Linked DNA regions of Homo sapiens: region 2 is linked to region 1. The links are contacts of gene promoters, found by promoter capture Hi-C in human tissues and cell types (Jung and others, 2019). All regions are on one chromosome and are shown on one strand. Each heading gives the region's core, a stretch centred on a gene start or on the middle of the fragment in contact. The rest is flanking DNA. Distances are from core to core; before and after follow the strand shown. Region 1 holds the start of JMJD4 (jumonji domain containing 4). Region 2 holds the start of RNF187 (ring finger protein 187).

Evidence for each region. The method cuts DNA at HindIII sites, captures the fragments that hold promoters and counts their contacts. A contact is called where the count stands out against the background at its distance.
Region 2: the fragment with the promoter of RNF187 here is called in contact with the fragment with the promoter of JMJD4 in region 1 in 1 of the 25 tissues and cell types used here (neural progenitor cells).

The regions. Positions count from the first base shown.
Region 1 is chr1:227,734,052-227,740,221 of GRCh38, reverse strand. JMJD4 (jumonji domain containing 4) reads left to right here and starts at 4,920. Exons shown (of 6, transcript NM_023007.3): 1 at 4,920-5,210; 2 at 5,406-5,571. The coding sequence starts at 4,949. It overlaps SNAP47 (synaptosome associated protein 47), which reads right to left and starts at 4,787. Exons shown (of 5, transcript NM_053052.4): 1 at 4,723-4,787. RefSeq lists silencers at 4,449-4,738, 5,199-5,398. The HindIII fragment of the contact is 38,393 bases long and covers 1-6,170 here.
Region 2 is chr1:228,484,353-228,491,042 of GRCh38, reverse strand. RNF187 (ring finger protein 187) reads right to left here and starts at 3,661. Exons shown (of 4, transcript NM_001010858.3): 1 at 3,165-3,661; 2 at 1,991-2,083. The coding sequence starts at 3,554. RefSeq lists enhancers at 241-535, 2,215-2,943, 3,061-3,921, 4,223-4,602, 3,922-4,783 and 1 more and silencers at 3,023-3,222, 3,483-3,602. The HindIII fragment of the contact is 28,484 bases long and covers 1-6,690 here.

The DNA.
Region 1 (6,170 bases), core at 3,671-6,170:
TCCACACCAGGGAGTCTCATTGGTGGCTCCACTCCGCAGGTCTCTGTTCGGAGGGCTTCCTCGCCTTCCTAAGGCACTGTCACCAACCATGGCCCAAGCAAAACTCCAGAGAGTTGGTGCTTTCATGACTGTCGCACTACAGAAGGCACTATCATGGGAGGGCCGCAAGGCCCGCTACACACCATGGGCACCCAATGAATTTGTGCTGAGTTGACCACAACCACACCACATGGAAACAGAGCTGTGCCTATGCCCTCCTGTACCACATAGTTCTGCAATCAGTCCAGGTCCTGGAGCCCTCACGGTGTCCCTGCCTGTTGCAATCTGCAACCTCCTTCCTCCAGTGCAGGTGTGGGCCTGGGGACCCGCGCTGACCCTGAGAACACACAGCTGAATCCTCGAGGGAGGTCATGGCCAGGGGCCCAAGGGTGTCTGCAGCCAACCCACACAAGTGACGCTCTTGGGGAGGAAGTCTGCAGCACAGGGATGGCTCAGCACGCAGGGCGATCTGTACAATGGGTCTCTTTCAGCATTTCCATCACTCAAGGGTCCCCTGAGTGAGGCTCAGTACCCAGTAAACAACTTATTTTTAGTTAATTTCCGCAGTCACAGAACAAACATCTTGCACACCTTCCACTACCTCGCAACCAAGAAGCTAAGTGAGAACAGTGGTGGCTGTGTGTGCCCACAGGGGCGGTAGGGTGCGGCCAATCTTTCCAGGCTCCCCTCCCCTGCTCCTCAGACCCTCTTTCCACTCCCTCAGAGGTTCCCAACTCTAGCCACAAAGTGCAGACACCCTCACTGGGGCTGTTTGCATGCAACACAGTGACAGAGGAGCACATATTCGGCACAAAGCGTACTGCATTTTCTCCAAAGTGCTGACTTAAAACCCGTCCTGGCCAGGCACAGTGGCTCATACCTGTAATCTCAGCACTCTGGGAGGCTGAGGTGGAGGATCACTTCAGCCCAGAAGGCAGAGGTTGCAGTGAGCCAAGATAGCGCTATTGCATTCCAGCCTGAGTGACAGAGGAAGACCCCGTTTTAAAACAAAAACAAAAAACCATCCTAATGGAGTATTGTGTGGGGCCCAAGAATGTGGATTTCTTGCCATTCCCAAGCGATGCCAGGGCTGATCTAGCGGGCTCTGGGTGACACAAGCCTATGTTCCAGTCCCATGAGAGCTGATAACACTCCAGGCCTCCTGCGTATACAGTGGTGACACTGACCCGAGGGGGCACCCTGCGGACCAGCGAACTAAACCACAGAGTTCCATCTCAAGAACGAGAGCTCCATCTCCCACCAAGTCCTAGGGGCTCAGTGATCTCAGGGAGCTGTGGACCTGCTAGCCCAAATGCTCCTTTCTTAGGAAACAGGCTCAACCACGGAGCTGCAGGAACTCCTTCCAGGCAATGCCCACCTGAATTTCAGTTTCCCCATGAGGCAAACTCGGAACCATATTCCAAGATCTTGAGACAATTATAAACACTCTGCTCCCCACATCTTCCCCATTGGCCTCCCATGATCTGCATGCACCACAACCAAAATCAAATGACTACTAGCAATTAAGGAACAATATGTGGCAAGATCAATTAAGGTCAATTAATTGTCAATATTGAGGTCAATATGTGGCAAGATGTTACAGCATATTGTTAAATAAAAAACAAAAGACTAAAAGCAGCAAAAGTTTATATATGTATATTATACACGATGGAGAAAGAGACTGTGTATGTGTGAGTGTGTGTGCATACATGTGCGTGAACGTATAGGCAAGGACTGGGGGGAGAGAAGAGTGGAGAGAGAGAATGAATGAATGAATGAATGTATGTGTGAAGGAATGTAGAAAAGCCGGCTCTACACCAGGAATAAAAAACGGTCATCTCGGCTGGGTGTGCGGTGGCTCACGCCTGTAATCCCAGCACTTTGGGAGGCCGAGTCGGGCAGATCACAAGGTCAGGAGTTCGAGACCAGCCTGACCAACATGGTGAAACCCCGTCTCTACTAAAAATACAAAAATTAGCTGGGCGTGGTGGTGCGCGCCTGTAATCTTCGCTACTCAGGAGGCTGAGGCAGGAGAATCACTTGAACCTGGGAGGCGGAGGTTGCAGTGAGCCAAGATCATGCCATTGCACTCCAGCCTGGGTGACAGAATAAGACGCGGTCTCAAAACAGCAAAAACAACAAAACAAAAAACAAAAAACAAAAAAACCAAAAAAAACCAAAGCAAAAAAACCCCAGTCATCTCTGGACGGAACTGGAGGTGATTCTTTCTCTGCAACTGTAACTTCTCCAGACATTCTGATTCTCTAGTGTAAAAAAAACCCCAATAAACAATTGCATACCGTGATCACACAAGCCACAATAGGGCTGACTAGGAAGGGACCATAGCACGCACTGAATCACACAATCCCCAAAACAACTCTCCGCCTCCTGTCCCTGCCCTCATATCCCACCTTTACCTGGACTCAGACTCCCAAAACTCACTTTCCTCCTAGTCCTCCCTCCAACTCCTCAGACCTTGGTCCTCCCTCTTCTGCTCCTCCCTGTTCTCCTGGGTAAACCTCACACCCCTTGGAAAGAGTCTTCCAGCAAGGCTCAGAGCCCCAGCACTCCTAGAACCTCCCATATCCCCACTTATAAGAGTAAATAAAACAACATTTCCATTGCTTCATAAAGGGAAGGCAGGTGCCCCTCTCCCGCTTAGGATGCCTCTGTTTGGTCTGGAATGAGATAGCCCAGTGTCCAGATTTTACAAGACACAGTCATGGTCTGATGGCCCCTAGAATGTCATCAGACCTCCAAACCTAACTCAAAGGCCTCGCACTGTGTGCAAACCAGCACAAGCTGCCTCTCATTTCTCTGGGAGAGATGAGCGGTTCTAACTGTTCCTCCTTCCACCTCCCTGTCAAGACGCCTGGGAAATGCTGCCCAGACTCTGCACTCTCTCGCAGAGCACCTATGTGCACACAGCCTGCCAGGCTTCGGGGGCAATAAATCTGCTATCTTTCCTTCTGCATCCATGTGGGTAGCTTTGAGCTGATTTCTCCAGCACACCAAGACATACATCACATAGGGTCCCCCATGGCCCCACTTTCGTGTCCTGGCCGAAAATCACAGAGTACCCTGATCCCTCTGTGCCCCAACCACAGGTTTTCCCCACCAGGCTTCAACCCAATCCAGGGCCTTTAACATTTCCAGGCATGGAAGAAAGTATCTAGGTTTACTACAAAGAAAACGGCCTTGGCCCTGAGCCAAATTCCTGAAACCTTCCTATAAACTCCATAACCCACACCCCTTCCAAGAGACATACCTAGGGAGGACATCCCTTTTCCCTTACTGCCCGTCTCGAGGACTACCGCAGCCCACTCTATATGAAAGTTCCCCTAACAAAACCTCTAGGCAGGGCCTGGCGCAGTGGCTCACACCTGTAATCCCAGCACTTAGGGAGGCCAAGGCAGAAGGATTGCTTGAGCCCAAACGTTCAACACCGGCTTGGGCAACACAGAGACCCTGTCTCTACAAAAAAAAAAAAAAAAAACAAAAACAAAAAAACAAAACTAAGCTGGGCATAGTGGCTCATGCCTGTAGTCCCAGCTACTTGGGAGGCTGAAGCAGAATTAAAGAATTCATCAAGCCCAGGAGGTGGAAGCTGCAGTAAGCTGTGATGGTGCCACTGCATACTGTCTCAAAAAAAAAAAAAAAAAAAAAAAAAAAAAAAAAAACTGCTCTGGGCTTACCATGCATTTAGCACTTCTTTCTTTGGTATCCCAACTGGTCCCACCTGAGGATAGTGTGGGGAACTCCCTTGCCGCCACTTTTGGGGTAACTCCAGTTGCAAGTTTGGCAAAACACTCCTCATGTCACTACTCCGATGTCCTCCCACTTCAGCCCTGCTCATGTGTACACAGCCCCAAATCCCTACCCACACTCCCACCACACCTTCATTTCACACCCTCCCTCATTCCCCACCATCTTCTCCAGACACCCGTCATCCCCTGGGGCCCCTTGCCATGCCCTCCAGGTCCCCTGTGGGCCCCATTCGCCCATCTAGGTTACCCTGCCCCCTCCAGCCCTCCCACCATTTTCCTCCAGGTCCCCACCATCCTCTCTAGATCCCATGTCCCCTCCAGGTGCCACTGATCCCTCCAGGAACCCACTGTCCCCATCCCTTCCAAGTGCTACCGTCCCCTCCAAATCCCCACTGTCCCCTCCAGGTCCTCAATGTCCCCATCTCCTCCAAGTGCCACCGTCCTCTCCAGGTCCCCACCGTCCTCTCCAGGTCCCCACTGTACCCATCCCCTCCAGATCCCACCGTCCTCTCCAGGTCCCCACTGTCCCCATCCCCTCCAGGTCCCACCGTCCCCTCCAGATCCCGTCTCCATCCCCTCCAAGTGCCACCGTCCTCTCCAGGTCCCCACCATCTCCTCCAGGACCCTACCATCTCCGCTAGATCCCACCATCCCAGGGCCCCCCAGCTCTCCCTCTGGGTCCCACCGTTCTCTCCGGGTCCCATCATCCCTGGGCGCCCCCGCACCGCCGCACTCCCGCCCCCAGAACCGCCTCTGTCCCCGCCCCTCTCCCAGCGCAGCCCGCATACCCCCCACCCCCCGGGGATGCGGGAAGGAGGGCTCGGGCTGTGTCAGCCACAGCGCGCGGACTGAGCCGAGGGCGGACGCTACGGCTTGGCTTGGGCCGGGCGCCCAACAGACCAACACCGTCGCTCACCTGAGGGACGCCAGACGAGTCCCAGAGCCGACCGCGGCGCCTCGGCCGCTCGGCGCCTGCGCAGTGAAGACCGCGGCGAGCCGCGCGCATGCGTGCAGGCCCGGAGCCCCAGGCGCTGGCGGGGCAGAAACGCGGCGCCCTGCGTCTTCTGGTTCCGAGGCTGGTCCTCACCGTTTCCGCTCCGGCGGAAGTGAGGAGGAGGGTCCTTCGACCCGTGCTGAGCTGGATGGACCGCGAGACGCGCGCCCTCGCCGACAGCCACTTCCGAGGCCTGGGGGTCGATGTCCCCGGCGTCGGCCAGGCTCCGGGCCGGGTAGCCTTCGTCTCGGAGCCGGGCGCCTTCTCCTACGCCGACTTTGTGCGGGGCTTCTTGCTGCCCAACCTGCCCTGCGTGTTTTCCAGCGCCTTCACGCAGGGCTGGGGCAGCCGGCGGCGCTGGGTGACGCCCGCGGGGAGGCCCGACTTCGACCACCTGCTACGGACCTACGGTGGGGCGGCGGCCGCAGACCCCGGGCGGGGAGGAAAGGCCGGCGGGACCCAGGCCCGGGAGGCCCCCGCCTAGAGAGGGGCACCAGGGAGGGTGAGGGAGGCCAGGCGCGTGGCCCCTGGAGAGTTCCTCTGCAGACGGTTTGGAGTGAGGACGGGGCCCAGGGAGATGGCATGGACCGTGCCTTTCATTTCAGGAGACGTGGTTGTACCAGTTGCAAACTGTGGGGTCCAGGAATACAACTCGAACCCCAAAGAGCACATGACTCTCAGAGACTACATCACCTACTGGAAAGAGTACATACAGGCGGGCTACTCCTCTCCCAGGGGCTGTCTCTACCTCAAAGACTGGCACTTGTGCAGGTAATGGGGCTTGGGACGCACCGAGGCGCTGCCTTCCCTAGCGCTGCGTGAACCCAGAGGCCTTTCTGATGAAGGTGGCCCCTGGGTGCACAACGGAGCTATTTTTCCCCGTGAGGCACTTTAATCAGTTTAAAAGAAACTGGATTGTCTTCCGCATGGCTGCAAGTGTTGTTCTTTGGGAGGTCAATATGGTTTTTTTTCCTTTTTTTTTGAGAGAGATCTCCTCAGCCTCCCTAGTACCTGGGATTACAGGAAGGCGTCTCCACTCCCGGCTTTTTTTTTTTTTTTTTTTTTTTTTAAAGAGACTAGGTTTCACCATGTTGCCCAGGCTGGTCTTGAACTCCTGAGCTCAGGTGATGCATCCACCTCAGCATCTCAAAGCACTGGGATTATAGGCATGATCAGTACTTTCTAATAAGCAGAACCATTGTAGTCAGACTGCCCCGCCCCCTCCCCCGCCAGCAGCGTCTGGCTCAGAGGAGGGTCTGGGGCTCTTTGGGGGCTGCAGCCATCTGGAAGCTCCACTGGAGCCGATTGGTCTCAGTTGCCCCACTCGTGCTGCCCTAGTCTCCTCGTGCCTCACGTGCTGTCGGTGGTGC
Region 2 (6,690 bases), core at 2,412-4,911, 750 kb before region 1:
ATAGAGTTCTTTCTCCCCTACACTGCAGTGCTCAGCTGCACAGGAAGACTGTCCCTCTCCCATCTCCCATGGCCAAGGGGACAGTAAATCCTTGAGTGGCCCTGCTAGGTCTAGAGCCTGTCAGGCACGTGACTGTCAGGGCAGGACACACACCCATCTTGCCAGCAACTGTCCCTGCTGTGCCCACACCAGAACTCCAATGGCTGAAAACCATCCCATCAGCCTTCAACAAACAGCATTCACACTTGCCACTCTTCAGCTGGTTTTCAGCCAACTCCTAACCTTGCAAACAGGAGAGCAGAGCAGGATGCTACTCTGATTTTACTCAGTCATGGATGGCTTCCACCTGGCCCTGGGCCACACAGGGCAGGTGACACCCATAGTCATGAGGGGCCAAGGCTTTTGTTGCTGAGAATGCAAATGACAGCTGGGTGTCTGCTGGCTGGCTGATGCAACACGCTGCAAACTCCTTCCTTTGGATTTAGGTGGCTTCTCTCATCCCAGCATCTAAGCCACAAACCCCCAAAACAGGACAGATTGAAAGCTCCAACCTGCTAAAATCTGTGGGCAAAACAATTCCCTTGGGGTAACACAGGGTTACTGAAAACTTGGAGGTCCCCAAAGCCTTCCAGCCTCACTTGCACTGGGCAGTGTTGACCACTCACAAGGCAAGGAGAAGTTCAGAGCAGCCCCAAGGGCAGTGTGGAGTGCCAGGGGTCTGAGTGGCATCAGGGACCCCATGTGTAACCCGTCACTGTCTGAGGGAGGCCTGCACCTCAGGCCTGTGGATAGCAGGCAAGGGCTTGGCAGCACCAGGAGCACAGAGCCCACCTCAGCCTCAAGCTGGGGTAAAAACGTGGGCCTCAGCCTCGAGATGCAGCCAGTTACCCAAGAGCTGCTGCACCTGTGAAAAGCACTCTGTCTTTCAGGTTAAAAGAAGGAGATAGGAATTTATGAAACGCAGAGAAAATGGCACACAGGTTTTTACTACACGAGGAAAAAGTCACCAAATAGAGTTTAAACGACTAAAGAGCTTTACTGGTGAGTAACCTAAAAGAATCTATGGGATGTCCCCTTGGGATATAATACTGTGGAAGGCACCCAAGGAAAGTAACGCTGCTCTGGTCTGAATGTCTGTGTCCTCCCCAAATCCCCATGCTGAAATCCTCATCCCTCAGGTGATGGCGTTAGGAGGCAGGACCCTTGGGAGGTGATGAGGTTGTGAGGGTGGAACTCTCAAGAACGGAATCAGTGTCCTTACACAAAGGCCCCAGAGACACCCTCACTTCTTCCACCATGTGAGGACACAGTGAGAAGACACCATCTATGAACCAGGAAACGCCCTCACCAGACAGGGAATCTGCCAGTTCCTTCATCTTGGACTTCTAGCCTCTAAAAAATAATGAGCAACTCTCAGATCAGAACAAGAGGACCACAGAAAATTACAGATGTGTTCTAAAAAAGAAAAAAAAAATAGCACTTTGGGAGGCCAAGGCGGGAGAACCGCTTAAGGTCAGGAGTTTGAGACCAGCCTGGGCAACACAGCAAGACCCCCACCTCTAGAAAAGCATTTTAAAATTAACCAGGTGTGGTAGCACGTGCCTATAGTCCCAGAGGCTGAGGTGGGAGGATCGCCTGAGGCCAGTTCGAGCTGCAGTGAGCTACAATCATGCCATTGCACTTCAGCCTGGGTAATGAAGTGAGACTCTGTCTCTTGGGAAAAAAAAAAGAAGTCTGATGCTGCCATCACCTACAGGTAAAATGTGAGGAGAAAAAGAGGCTTCCACTGGCTTTGGCTAGATTCTATTTGAGAAATACAAACACATCCTAAAAAAAATACCCTGAAGCTCACTTAAGTCCAGAGGCCCCTCCTCCAACCAACCAGCTGAGCAGTTCAGAGGCCTGGCCCACTTGGCCTGGTGGTCCCTTTGTCTAGAGCCCTGAGCCCACAGTCCCCTCATTCCAGGCTGCCCCAGGTCCCCCCACTTGCCTTCCACACTGCAGCTGCTGACTCTGCCTGGCCATGCAGGTCCCGGGCGTCATTCAAGTCCTTTCTCATGATTTCCACAGACCCCTTGTTCTCCTGTAAAGAAAAGAAGGTCACCAGGGGTGGGCAGAAGCTCTGGGTCCCCCAACCCAGCCCAGTACTGAGGGACATCACCCCAGCTGACTGCACACAGTCTGACCATCCCAGAGATAACCTCGAAGCCCGGTTGTCTAGGGCAGGAACGCACAGGCAGTCAAAAGGTTTCTTGGGCTTCACACCTATTCAGAAGGATCTGGGTGCTGGGGCTAAGGGGACTGTCTAGGTGGGTTTAGGAGTTCTGTGTCTGTAAGTGGCCCTGTTCAGTGTGAGTTCGGCCTGTACCAAAGGTCTGCACAGCCTGCCCTACACCCTGCCCTGCCTGAGCCGGATGGGGGTCGCTCTGCCCGGTGGCAGGACCCCCAATGCAGGAGGAGCACCCAGGGACACAGTCTGGCTGGCTTCCCCTCCCCTGTATTGAAGAGCAGGACCCCAGGCTGGCTGTTGTCTCCTATTCTGTGTCCCACAACCAACCCGCCATGGGCAAGGCTCCAGACTCCCGGACCCGCTGCTGCCAGACTCTCAGAGCGGGTTTCTGAAAGATGGGAGAGGGGACAGGGGGTGCAGGCGAGGGCTGGGTGGCCCGGGGAGCAGACGAGAAGGTGGGCCAGGCCTGTGGACACAGTGGAATACAGAGGGGCAAGAGGCGTGATGTCTCCCCCAAGGGAAGAGTGAGTGGAGGAGTCAATCTGTAGGAACTAGAGGGGGTCTATGAGGGCGAGACAGGGCACAGCTAGTGATGGGACCACAAAGATGGGCGCTGGTGGGGGAAGGACTTCGTAGAAGGTAGGGGGTGGGGAGATAAGGCACCGCCCAGCAGGGGACACCAAGACGGGGAAGGGGACCAGACTCCGAAGAGACGCAGGAAATATGGGGAGGCAAGCCGCAGGAGGGAGGGGCCCAGCACACGCTGGAGAGGGGACCCGTGGCGGTGAGGGGAGGGGGACAATCCGGGGACGGGGACAATCCGGGGACAGGAACAGTGGAGACGGGAAGGGCCCAGGGCTCAGGGGGACCGGGGCGGGGGCGGAGAGGCGCAGGGCACCGTCCGGGGTGGGGCACGGGACCCCGCGGCGCGCACCTTGCCGCGCAGCGCCTTCCTCCAGCGCGGTTCCCACTCGGGCGGCTCGGGGCCCGCAGCCATACGGCAGGCGGCGCAGAGCGGGCCGGCGTCGGCGCGGCACAGCAGCTGCAGCGCGGCCTCGCTGGCCGGGCCGTCGCGCGCGGGCGCCGCGGCCGCCTCCTCGAGCGCCAGAAGGCGGCGGCTGAGCGGGGGCCTGCCGGGCTCCACGGCGCGCTGCCAGCAGTCGTCGGCGCACTCGGGGCACGGGAAGGGCCCGTCCTCCTCGGCCCAGAAGCGCACCACGCACGCCCGACAGAAGCGGTGGCCGCAGTCGGCGCGCACCGGTTCCCGGGGCGCGCGCTGGCACAGGGCGCAGGCGGCCTCGGCGGGGCCCGCAGGGAGCGCCAGGGCTGCGGGCGGCGGGGCCGGCAAGGGCGCAGGAGCGGCTGGGGAGGGCCGGAGACCTAGACGGCCGGCGACCGGACGGAGACCAGCAACAGGACGAAGACGCCAACGCCGGGGACGCGCACGGGGCGGGGTCGGGGACGCGCACGGGGCGGGGTCCGGACCGCGGAGCGCTCTGCCGATAAGATCCTGGCAGCGGTGTGCTGCAGCCGGAGGTCCTGGCCGCGCTGCGCTCCACAGACAAGATCCTGGCAGCAGTGTACTGCATCCTTAGGTCCTGGCCGCGGTGGGCTTCTCCGCCTGGATCCTAGCGGCGGTGCGCTCCTCCGCCTTGATTTTGGCAACTATGCTCTCCACCTGCAAGGTCCTGGCAGCGGCGCACGTCACCGCGCAAGTCCTGGCAGCTGCGCGCTTCACTCTACTGCCTGCGGACCGGCCCAAGTCGTATCCTGAAATCTTACTGGGCTGTCCCTTCCTACTTCAGTAACTCCTGCGAAAGAGGGAAACAAAGTTTTATTTTTACTTGAAGGTTCCATTTTTAAAAGGTTGTTTTTGTAAGCTGCTAGGATCTGAGCTGCGCGTACCCCCGCGGTAGCTCGCCCGCGTGGGCTGGGGACGGGGCGGGAAATGGCCTGCGTGGGCCTCCTCCGCTGCTCTCATCCTGCACGGACCCGCCCTGCATGGGCACGCCCTGCGTGCACGGGCCTGCCCGCGTGGACGTGCCCTGCGTGCACCCTTCCTTCAGGGACCCGCCCTTGAACGGCCCTCCGGACGTGGACACTCGTATACGCCCACCCTGCGTGGGATCTCCCTGCGTGGACCCATCCCGCTGAGCCTCTTCTCGCGCAGCCTCCCTCTGGCCCCCTGGGAAGCTACCCTGGTTGTCCGCTGTCTCCTGGCTGGGGGGAGCTCTCATTGATTCTGTGATGATGCATGACAGAAGAGCATTTGTTAGCTTTGCTTTGCTTTTCTTTCTTTTTTGAGACAGCCTCGCTCTGTTGCCAGGCAGGCTTGAGTGCAGTGGCGCGATCTCGGCTCACTGCAACCTCCGCGTCCCGGGTTCAAGCGATTCTCCTGCCTCAGCCCCCCGAGTAGCCGGTATTGCAGGCGCCTGCCACGACGCCCGGCTAATTTTTGTATTTTTAGTACAGACGGGGTTTCACCATGTTGGCCAGGCTGGCCTCGAACTCCTGACCTCGTAATCCACCCGCCTCTGCCTCCCAAAGTGCTGGGATTACAGGCGTGAGCCACTACACCCGGCCGTTAGCTTTTCTTTAAAAAATAAATTTAAAGGAAAGAAATAAGCCTTTGGGAAGAGCAATCTTGTGTTTTTGTTTTTTAATTATTTTGAAAACAAGCAAGCATGGTTAAAATAAGATTGTGCAAGTTTTGCATTTTAAAAAATTAATCTGGGCCGGGCGCCGTGGCTCACGTCTCTAATCCCAGCACTTTGCGAGGCCGAGGCGAGCGGATCACAAGGTCAAGATATGAGACCATCCTGGCTCATGGTGAAACCCCGTCTCTACTAAAAATACACAAATTAGCCGGGCGTGGTGGCGCATGCCTGTAATCCCAGCTACTCAGGAGGCTGAGGCAGGAGAATCACTTGAACCAGGGAGTCGGAGGTTGCGGTGAGCCAAGATCGTGCCACTGCACTCTAGCCTGGCGACAGAGCGAGACTCTGTCTTAAAAAACAAAAACAAAAAAAAATTTTTATAAATCTGTATTCCAAGCAAGCGCAGGATCTAATGAGGTATTTTTGTCTTTGTGAAGATTTTTTAAATCGACTTGGAAATGCACTAGATGCCCGTGGGAAACATGAATAGTAAACCGAGGTTATTTCTGTGTAGTAAAGATTAGAGGCTTCCAGCCGAGCCTTGCTGATATTGTTGAGTCAACTAGGAACTTGCTGGAGAGAAAAGTAAAAAATATAAAAAATGAGCAAACTTCATAATGAACTAATCTTGTGAATGAGAAAATATCAAAAATTATAATTAAAGGCAAATAGCCAAATTAGGAACATTGTAACCACAAATATACAAAGAGTTTATAAAATTAGGTAAGGAAAAGCATGATGGAAAATACACCTTGTCATGGGATTTTTCAAATCACAAAAAAAAAAGCACACAAATGATTGAACACACATGAGAAAAAAATGTACACTCTGCCCAGTTAAGAAAGAGGAAAATAAAACGAGACTCTCTTTCTTTCCACTATTAAGTAAGCAGACCAAACAAAAAAAAGGAAACTTGGCCGGGAGCCGTGGCTCAGGCCTGTAAACACAGCACTTTGGGAGGCCGAGGCGGGTGAATCATCTGAGGTCAGGAGTTCAAGACCAGCCTGGCCAACATAGTGAAACCCTATCTCTACTAAAAATACAAAAATTAGGCTGGATGTGGTGGCACACGCCTGTAATCCCAGCACTTTGGGAGGCTGAGGCAGGTGGATCACAAGATCAAGAGATCGAGACCATCCTGGCCAACATGGTGAAACCCCGTCTCTACTAAAAATACAAAAATTAGTTGGGCATGGTGGTGCACGCCTGTGGTCCCAGCTACTTGAGAGGCTGAGGCAGGAGAATAGCTGGAACCGGGAGACGAAGGTTGCAGTGAGCCGAGATCATGCCACTACACTCCAACCTGGCGACAGAGCAAGACTCCCTCAGTTTCAAAAAAAAAAAAAAAATACAAAAATTAGCCAGGCATGGTGGCACGTGCCTGTAATCCCAGCTATTTGGGTGGCTGAGGCAGGAGAATCGCTTGAACCTGGGCGGTGGAGGTTGCAGTGAGCCGAGATCACACCACTGCACTCCAGCCTGGGCAACAGAGTGAAACTCCATTTCAAAAAAACAAAAAACAGAAAACAAACAAACAAAAAAAACACTTGATTCTGTGAATACTGCTTCTTGTAATCCACGTAGCAGTATCGATTAAGGATTTTCTGATTGGAATTCCTTTTCTTAGAAAACAAACTATAAAAATAACAGGAAATGAAAATAATAAAAATTGGGTTGTAAAAAATTGGGCTGTTTTGTTTTGTTTAGAAATGTGGCTGGGAGAGGTGGCTCATGCCTGTTAATCCCAGCACTTTGGGAGGCTGAGGTGAGTGGATAGCTTGAGCCCAGTAGTTCAACACCAGC